2 separate regions of the Homo sapiens genome follow, and region 1 is linked to region 2. Evidence: promoter capture Hi-C in 16 types of primary human blood cells and fetal thymus (Javierre and others, 2016). All regions are on one chromosome and are shown on one strand. Each heading gives the region's core, a stretch centred on a gene start or on the middle of the fragment in contact. The rest is flanking DNA. Distances are from core to core; before and after follow the strand shown. Region 1 overlaps STIMATE-MUSTN1 (STIMATE-MUSTN1 readthrough). Region 2 holds the start of RFT1 (RFT1 glycolipid translocator homolog).

Region 1 (5,015 bases), core at 426-2,925, 280 kb before region 2:
TCATGTGCCAGTGTAGCTGTCACTACCATGTGCTGAAGCTCATCAGGAGTGCGACCACCTGAGGGAGGTGAGTGAGGGACAAAGACACTTTAAAACTGCCAGTGCTGGCTGCGCGCGGTGGCTCACGCCTCTAATCCCAGCACTTTGGGAGGCCGAGGCGGGTGGATCACGAGGTCAGGAGATAGACACCACCCTGGCTAACACGGTGAAACCTGTCTCTACTGAAAATACAAAAAAATTAGCTGGGCGTGGTGGCGCGCACCTGTAGTCCCAGCTACTCGGGGGGCTGAGGCAGGGGAATCACTTGAACCCGGGAGGTGGAGGTTGCAGTGAGCTGAGATTGCACCACTGCACTCCAGCGTGGTGACACAGCAAGACTCTGTCTCAAAAAAACAAAACAAAACAAAAACCTGCCAGTGCTTCTGCCAGGCGAAGGTTCAATGGAAGACAGAGTACCTGGAAGCAGCCAGGGAAATCAACAGGAAACAGAACTTAACTGATGACAGAAACACCTAGGCAATGATTCTGCTCACTCCCTGACAGTCCAGCCCAGGAGGCCCAGAACAGTGCTGCTGCACCAGAGAGGTTCAGGAAAACAGCCTCTCGGGTTTCGCAGACAAAGAGGACAGGGCAACATGGCCTTCGCCCATCCCCATCTGCAGTCAAGCATAAGTAATATTTTTACACTGTTTTTTTCTTTTTTTGAGATGGAGTCTCCCTCTATTGCCCATGCTGGAGTGCAGCGGTGCAATCAGCTCACTGCAGCTTCCGCCTCCTGGGTTCAAGTGATTCTCCTGCCTCAGCCTCCCAAGTAGCTGGGATTACAGGCACCCACCACCACACACAGCTAATTTTTGTATTTTTAGTAGAGACAGGGTTTCATCATGTTGGCCAGGCTGATCTTGAACTCCCGGCCTCAAGGGATATGCCCACCCTGGCCTCCCAAAGTGTTGGGATTACAGGCCTGAGCCACCGTGCCCGGCCTACACTTTAAAGAGCGAGCTTTACTCCCCATGGGAAAAGGCAAGATAACTGGGGGAGTGAGAGGAGGAGGCTCTGAAGGGCATACCACATGAACTGTGTTCTTGTACGGTCTGTTTCCATCCGACACAAAATTTTTTCTCTCACCAAAGAAAGGCCCTTTTCCACTCACCCTCTCTTGAGGGCCTTGTACCCAGATCCAGCTGAGCACTGCTGACCACAAGCTCCAGCTCTCCATGGTAGACAGAGTGGGAGACAAGGGCACTGGGTCCAGTACTGACCCTCTACGATACCATGTGGCTCTGAAATCCTTGCAGGTAAGCTGCAGGACACCACACACTCCAGGTGTGGTGAGCTTTCCAGTTGCTGAGGCTTGAGACATTTTGTGTAGTCTCACAGCCTCCTATCCTGGGCTGGAGCTTTGGTGATGTGCACACAGCACTCTGATGCCAGAGGGCGCAGCCTGTGCTAGGGTAGGTCAGCAGGAAAACCAGTGAAAAGAGGGAGGGGGCATTTCTCCTGCCTGCCCTTCCTCTGTAAAATCACAAGGGGTCACTCTTAGACCAGAGATGGCAGGAGCAGCAACTGCTTCCAAGGCAATTTCCCTCTGGCCTGAGGCTATGCTGCTCTCAGATACTTTGTGTCCAAAGCATCTCACGCCTGCGAGAACAAGGACATGTGATGTACATACAGACCTTACTTTCATTCATTCACTTAGCAAACATTTACAAGCCTACTGTGTGCCATGCCTTGGGAATAAAGAGAGAAAGTTCTATGTTCCATCCTCAACACAGATGATTCTGACAGACAGCAAAGCATCATGTGGGCCCTGGAAGCCAGACTGGCTGGGCTCCATGACTCCTGAGCGGTGTGAACTTACAGTATATATAACCTCTCTGTGCCTCAGTTCCACCACTGTAAAATGGGGATGATCAAAGTCTCCATTAATATATGGCAGGCTGCTATGAGGACAAAGGGAGGCAGAAGATGGGGCCAGGATGAGGTAGGCAAGCCTCCTCTGCCACTCCACCTGCTAAGAGAAGCACTATGTGGGTGCCATCAGCAAGGAGGACAGAATATCATGGCCGGATTGAGGTCACAGATGGATTGCTCTGGGGGCTGCATGGAAGGCACATTGCAATGATAAGGTGGAAGAGGTCAATGAGGGTCAACAACAGTTTTGACCCTGAATGGCTGACGCCACAGAGAAGCCCTGGTGTGTCCTGGTTCCAGAGCAGAGACACTCCTGTAGGGCATTATCCTTCCTTGCCAGGGGCGGCTTGGAAACTGGGAGACATAAGGACACTAGAAAATCAAAGGACAGAACTTGGATTGATGAACAGAAAGCCAGTGCATGGGGAAAGTGTCAACACGCAAAGCCCTACAAGCCAACTGATAGCTGTGTAAGTGAGCTCCAGGACAGCATGTACAGGATGGTCTCTCAGAGGAGCACAGAGGAAAAGGGGAGCACCCTCTCCCCAAGCCAGAGGGAGCAGGACCAGCAGCAGAAAGCAAGGCCAGCCTATATTTTCAATGGAGGGGCAGCTGATGTTTGCACTCAAATAGGGAACACTTACAGTGAACAAGGGTCCTCTTCAGTGAGATCTGCTAGGTATACATTTGCAAAGTGGATGAACAGCATTCCTATGGCTTGTTTGGAAGTGTCTAAAAACCTGTACAAAATAAACCAGCACTGGTTATTAGCCTGACAGGAGCGCAATATCCAATTTGAGGAAAACGAGAAGACTGAAACAGGAAGAAAGCCACCCCAACCTTCCAATCACTGGTTATCTCTTCCTGGGGCCTTGAGCACTAACTCAGGCTTGGCATCTCAGCCACCTTTCAAAGCCTTCAATAACACTGCCTTTGAAAACCCTAAAAGGTCAAGGATTGATATTTAAAATACGTTTTAAATTTTTTTCTTACTTCAAAATAAAATGCTCAATCGCTGCTTTGTGATGAAGCCCAAGGTGCCTCTATTTTAAAGAGCTCCCATTCAACTTCACTCACAATGAGCTAAATTATGTGTGAAATTAACAAGACGTGCACAAATCCAGTACTGCAGCTGGATCCCTAAAGAAATTTCAGCTGCTGCCATTTAAACAATGGGCTAGATCAGGGTAGGCAAATTTTTTCTGTAAAGGACCAAAGAATAAATATTTGAGGTTTTGTGCGCCATATGATCTCTGTCTCAATTCCTCAGCCCTGCCGCTAGAGAATGATGCAGTCATAGACACAGCTATTCCAATCATACACACCGGGCCTGAGGGCTGTAGTGTGCCAGCCCCTGGACTAGATGGTAAGCATTTCAAAAAAGAAAAAACAAGGGTGTTAATCTCTGAGAGGAGCTAACCCCGACCCATGTGACAGGAGCATGGTGGAGACAGCGTGTGCCTTCAGTATGTCCTCCACCACCAGCACCAGGTAGCCATTCTCCTCTGTGGTCGAGGCACCTCTTGGTCATGGCTGTCTCTCACAGCCGCCCAGCTGGGCAGGGTCTCAGGACTGCAGAGATTATCCAGACCAACCCAGCGACGGTGGCTGGAAAATCATTCCCTAGACTCACTGCAAAGGAGGAGTTACCAAAGGACAACGTATGTAAGACTCAAGAGAGCCCCAAAGCTAGGTCTCCCACCAGGTCCTGCCCCAGCCCTGAGGTGGGAGTCACACATTCTAAAGTTAACAGGGTTTGAGAAAAATCAACGGGGGGAAAATAAAAAGAATTATCAAATTCGCCAGCAACACGTTTAAGAACAAGTACACGCTTAATAATTTTATCACAGTGATTACTGACGTTTCCTCTGAAGGATAAAATGGCTATTTTGTTAGGAAATGTAGAAGCCCAAGGCAGCCTAAAACAGGCAGCTTCTTGTGGACACAGTGCTGTCTTGAAGAGCTGACTGTATCCTTCCAAGTGATGTATTATTTTGGAGTTTTGTCTTTAGAACCTACTTCTGAAGCTTTACCACCATTTCACGAAGGAAAAATTGTGACTGCAGGATCATAATCTGTGAAATAAATATATGCTTGATGTATATATCAAAGTCTATTTAAGAAATATATGTATTTGGTCTCTGTCCTGGTTTCTGACACAGAGCTCCTAAAACACTTGTAATCTCCTGAGTAACACAGGTGCTAAGAGGAGTTTTTGTTCTAGTATTTGGTCTCTGGCCTTGGTCCTGATACGAGCACCTAAACCTCATGGAATTTCCCGGAAGACAGGAGCCTTTTGCTCTAATGAAGGAAGTCTTAGTGGGCTCCTAGATAGCTTCAGGATGGGGCTAGTCACCAAAAGGACCAAGTCATGATCAGAAACTTAGAACTTTCAGCCCTAATCCCCCACCCTCCAGGGAGAAGGGAGGGGCTGGAGACTGAGTTAACAATCAATCATGCCTACATGATGAACCCTCCATAAAAATCCCTAAACAATGGGATTTGGAGCGCTTCCGGGCTGGTGAACACATCCATGTGCTGGGAAGGGGGCACACCCCAACTCCTGTGCTCAGGACACTTCTGGACCTCGCCCTATGCACCTCTTCATCTAGCGTTCATCTGTGTCCTTTATAATAAATCAGTAAATGTAAGTAAATGTTTCCCTGAGTTTTATGAGCCGTTCTAGCAAATTACTGAACCTTAGCGGGGAAGTGGGGGTTGTGGGAACCCCTGACTTTATAGCAAAGTTGGACAGAAATGTGGATACCCTGAGGACCCCACTACTTGCAACTGGCATGAAGAAGGGGGCAGTTTGTGGGACTGAGCCCTTAACCTGTGGATTCTGTTCTAACTCCAGGTAGTTAAGTGTCAGAAGTGAATTAAATTATGGGACACCCAAGTGGTATTTGCAGAGTTGGAAAGCTGGTTGATGCTGGGGGAAGAAAACCCTCATATATTTGGTGTCAGAAGTATTTTGAGTAGAGAAATAGTTTTCCTTTATGCTAGGACCAAGAAAGACTCGTTTGGAGAGAGGAGCGTTTATATGCTATGTTTGATCTCCAAATTTAGGCTAGTTTTTGCTTGCACATACAGAACACAGA
Region 2 (5,090 bases), core at 2,302-4,801:
CTCAGAGTTATCTGTGAAGAGTTGCAATTTGGAAGATTTGATCTAAGCATATCAATGGACTACTGTGGTCTGAAAATCTCTGGGGACAGCTATGACCAAAAAGGGACATTGTGTAACACTGTACCTAAAGTATCACAGAGCAGCAAGGTCTCCAAAGCCAAGAAATCACCATCTTAACCGTTATGGAGTCAAAGGTGGTCTTTTGAGTCTGATGACAGCTCTGTAGCTGCTCCTTAGAAACATGCAGATATGGCTGGGCATGGTGGCTCATGCCTGTAATCCCAGCACTTTGGGAGGCCGAGGCGGGTGGATCAACTGAGGTCAGGAGTTCGAGACCTGCCTGACTAACATGGTGAAATGCCGTCTCTACTAAAAATACAATTCACCATTTAGCTCTTCTATCTGTTATCTTCTAATTGTTATAAGCCTCAATTTCCTCGGTCAAATGAGTTTACCTATCACATAGGGTTGATTAAAAGGATCAAAAGAGATTGTAGGGCTGGGTACAGTGGCTCATGCCTGTAATCCCAATACTTAGCTGGGCGCAGTGGCTCATGCCTGTAATCCCAGCACTTTGGAAGGCCGAGGCTGGCGGATCATGAGGTCAGGAGATCGAGACCATCCTGCCTCACACGGTGAAACCCCGCCTCTCCTAAAAATACAAAAAATTAGCTGGGTGTGGTGGCAGGTGCCTGTAAGTCCCAGCTACTCGGGAGGCTGAGGCAGGAGAATGGCGTGAAGCCTGGGCGACAGAGCTAGACTCCATCTTAAAAAAAAAAAAAAAAAGAAAAGAAAATCCCAACACTTTGGGAGGCTGAAAGGTAGGAGGATCACTTGAAGCCAGGAATTTGAGACCAGCCTGGGCAACACAGTGAGACCTCATCTCTACAAGAAATATTTTTAAAAGAAATGAGACTGTAGAAGTGAAAGCATTTTTTAAGTGCATACAAATGAAAGGCATTAATACTTTCAGCATAGGTGGCTTAGAATTAAGATAGAACAAGCTCTCAAATTCTTGCAGAATAAAATGTAACCACAAAGCTACCTGAAGTGTCTACAGTGTAATTCGAGAAAGCATACAAGAATGAAAACACTCAAGAAACCATATAAAAATATGGTTATTAAAAAAAAAATCCGAGCGCGGTAGCTCACACCTGTAATGCCAGCACTTCGGGAGGCTGAGGCAGGTGGATCACTTGAGGTCAGAAGTTCGAGACCAGCCTGTCCAACATGGTGAAACCCTGTCTCTACTAAAAATACAAAAATTAGCCAGGTGTGGTGGCAGGTACCTGTAATCCCAGCTACTTGGGAGGCTGAGGCCTGAGAATCTCTTGGGCCCGGGAGGCGGATGTTGCAGTGAGCCGAGATAGTGCCACTGCACTCCAGCCTGAGCAACAGAGTGAGACTCCATCTCGAAAACAAAAAACAAAACACCATGTGTACATACTTATGTTAACCTCAAAGTTACCACTGTCTAAGAAACTTAATGTTCCAGGCCATATCCATGTCTCCTAATTGGTTTGAATAAAGGTTGCAGCTAATGAAACTGAGGTTGCTTACGCCACCCAGTATTTGCCACACACTGCAGTCCTTATTAGCAACACAGCCTTCATTTACTTCTGCAAAGAACTTTACAGCTTTTGTTTTAAGACAGGGTCTCACTCTGTTGCTCAGGCTGGAGTGCAGTGGCATAATCACAGCTCACTGAGGCCTCAACCTCACAGACTCGAGATCATCCCACCTCAGCCTCCTGAGTAGCTGGGACTACAGGTGCATGCCACCACGCCCATCTAATTTTTGTATTTTTTGTAAAGACAAGGTTTCACCATGTTGCCCAGGCTGGTCTTCAACTCCTGAGCTCAAGCAATCCTCCTGCCTTGGCCTCCCAAAGTGCTGGGATGACAGGCATGAGCCACCGCGTCCAGCCAACTTTACAGTTTTAACAAAAAGGCTCTCTCACATCTGTTAAATTATTTGACACTAAAAACAACGAGGTAAATGCACAGGAAGCAAGACTGAGGGTTAAGTGATTTCCTCACTGTCACACGGCAAGTAAATGACCCAGCTTGACCTTACAGGTAAGCCACCTGACTCGTAGTCCAGTGTGTTTTCCGTTATAACTTGTTTTCGTTTTATGAAGCCTATCTGAGTAGTAAGATATTATCAAAGGCTGAAAAAAAACCAACATTGTGGATAAAACAATAAACTCAGTTATTTATGTAGTGAAACAGAAAAAAAAAATCCCTAGGTAAACTTAGAATGGCTAACATTTACTAAGCACATATCACGTGCAAGGCACTCTTCAACATGCTTTCCATAGGTTATCTCATTTCATTCCTACATTGACTATTTTAAAAATACTTATTACCCTAATAAAAATAGCTACATTTATTAAGTACTTGTAGTGTGCCAGGCACTTAAGAGGCATGATTTCATCTAATCTTCCTAATGACCCTGTGAGGTTGCACTATGATTCTCATTTAAGATGAAGAAACTGATACAGAAGTCATCGGATTTATCCCGAAGGCAGGCATCTAGCAAGTGACAAGGCCCAAACTCAAGCCCCATTCTGCTTGGTTCTTTCTTCTGCCCTCCATGTGCCTCTCTAAGATAAGGGGTAGGGTAGATTCGGGACTTGTGTGAAGTAGGGTTGATTGGCTCAAGAGTGAGACAGAGAGATACTGAGCCACTTGACTTAAGAGGTTCAGCTCCTGGGGTTGAAAGAATCTTCAGATACCATTTGGACTAACTGGCCTGTATCATACCTGACAGATGACAAAAATTAGGGCCAAGAAGGGAAGTGACTTGTCCAAGATCACATAAACAGAAGATGCAGCCAACATGTATTAAATGCATACTAAGAGCCGGGTACTGTGTTAAGTACGTTTATTTGAATGATCCCAATCAATCCCTGCTTATGAGCTAAGTACGACATATTATTACCCCCATTTTACTAGTGAGGAACTCAGGCTCTGCAGGTGAAGTCACTTGTCCTGGGTCACGGAGCAATCCAAGCCTAACTCCAGATTTCTCTTCTTAGCTATGCCATATGGACTCTCGGAACTCAGTGGGACTCAAAGTTTGAGGAAGGTGTTTGATGAAGGAAATGAACCCCTTGCCTGAAAAATATCAGATTCTCGAGCACGAAATACCAGTCCCTCACCCCCGCCACCTGATCTAATTCACTCCTACTGCCATATGGGAAATAGAATGCTCAGAAGGAAAGCGGCTTGTCTGCAGTCACCCGGCCTAGACTCTAAAGGCAGGCTCCTATCTCCGGGCCAGGGTCCCCCCTCATCAATGCCACCGTCTCCGGTCGACCCCCCCACCCCCTCCATTGCGGGGTCCACCTCGGGACTGGGTCGGCCCTGGGGCAGGCTCTCAAGGGCCCAAGGGCTGCCATCCCGCGAATCCCGGCTGCAGTACAAGCTGGAACCTGAAGGGCAGAGAGTACCTGCAGGAGGAGACCGGAGGAGGCCAGCCGGGCCGCGTGGCCCAGCACCTCCTGGCTGCCCATAGCCTCCGCGCCAGGCTCAGACACCAGGAAATGCCGCCGCCACTCCGTTTAGTCGCGATAAGATGGCGTCACGGCGCGCCTCGCTGTCTGATTGATGGCCTTGAGAGAGGGGGGCGGGGCACGAGAAGTTCTGGTCCTTTAAGTGGGCCTGTCTCGGGCCGTCTGTTATGGCGCCTGGCTCTTTCTATTTCGGTAGGTTTTGCGCTGTCTGTCGCTTGTGCGCTGTCTGTCCCTCTCTTCCCCGTATAAACGAAATAGTGTGGCGAGTACTAAGAGATACCGTTAAAGAATCCAAAGTTCCTTCTCTGAGGCTTTCAGCCACCAACCAAGAAGCACTAACTTTCCTGGCCTCATCTGCCAAAAGGGGAACAAACTTCTCACTGGCCCGTTAAGAAGATTCTCACCATTGACCTTTGCTTACAGAATCACAGCCACAGACCCTCTGAATTAGGCTGGACAGGAATTGTCCTCATTTAACAGAGAAAGAACTGAGGACCAGAAGTTAGATATAGCACTGTTATGTGTATGGTTTTGTGAAATCCTTCCGAAAGCTCTGAGAATTGGCCCCTGTGGTTAGAGATGAGTAAAGCCTTGGAGATGGGAAGTGACTTGTTCGAATCTACACAACTTGTTTCCTGACTAAGTGGATACCAGGCTCCTGATCCTAAACTTATCACTCTTGCCTGTATGCTAGAAATTGTGAGGGCAGAGTGGAAGAAGGACTGGAAGTGCTTTGTAAAAAAATGTAAAGCGCCCAACATACACAATCAGCTGCTGTTCTGTCAGTGTTCTTATTATCTACCAAGCAGGCTGTAGGAAGCCCAGTCTTTCCCCAATCTCTTTCAGTCCTCACATGATTTGGCCCCAACCTATCTTCTACTACCTTTCACACGATCATTGCCCTTCCCAACACTATCTAGGCCATAGCCATTCCGAGTCCTTACTGGTCCTCAAACAGGCGGTGACTCACTGGCCTTTGCTCCTCCACCCTCTTTGTCCAAAGTGTCTTCCCTGACAGCACCCCTTGCCCTCCTAGACCACACTGTCCTGACTTTCCTGGCCAACCACAGCTGGTACCTGCTGTGGACTAAATGTTTGTGTACCCTCAAAATTCATATGTTGAAGCCTAATCCCCAGTGTGATAGTATTAGGAGGTAAGGCCTTTGGGAAGTAATTAGGTCCTGAAAGTGGAGCCGTCATAATGGGATTCATGTCCTTATAAAAAGAGATGTCAGAAAAATGATCTCTGTGTTTACTATTTGAGGATACAGCAAGAATGTAGCTGTCTGCAACCACGAAGAAGGCTTTGTAAAATGTAAGGCGCCCAACATACACTTAACAGGAACCAAACTGGCTAGCACCTTGATCTTGGGCTTCCAGCCTCCAGAGCTGTGAGAGAAATTTCTGTTTTTGACTTACCCAGTCTATGGTATTTTGTTACAGCAGCCCAAGCAAATCAAGACAGTACCCCTAAAATACTCTGTACCCCTTTATAGTTCCTAATGCAATCTGCATTATAGCAGAAAGACTAGAATATGTGTCTCTATATAATCAGCCCATGAGCTCCAAGAGG

What was found. Contacts are between HindIII fragments. The CHiCAGO score rates a contact against its expected background, and 5 or more counts as called.
Region 1: a contact is called between a fragment that was not itself captured here and the fragment with the promoter of RFT1 in region 2, in 1 of 17 cell types (naive CD4 T cells). The highest score is 5.2, in naive CD4 T cells.

Annotation. Positions count from the first base shown.
Region 1 is chr3:52,850,045-52,855,059 of GRCh38, forward strand. STIMATE-MUSTN1 (STIMATE-MUSTN1 readthrough) reads right to left here. Exons shown (of 10, transcript NM_001198974.3): 3 at 2,559-2,654. It overlaps STIMATE (STIM activating enhancer), which reads right to left. Exons shown (of 8, transcript NM_198563.5): 3 at 2,559-2,654. Among named protein-coding and RNA genes, the nearest start is that of MIR8064, 6.0 kb to the left of the region's middle. The HindIII fragment of the contact is 4,527 bases long and covers 1-3,939 here.
Region 2 is chr3:53,126,884-53,131,973 of GRCh38, forward strand. RFT1 (RFT1 glycolipid translocator homolog) reads right to left here and starts at 3,552. Exons shown (of 13, transcript NM_052859.4): 1 at 3,455-3,552. The coding sequence starts at 3,517. RefSeq lists enhancers at 3,408-3,597, 3,608-3,657, 3,698-3,897, 3,908-3,957. The HindIII fragment of the contact is 8,425 bases long and covers 1-5,090 here.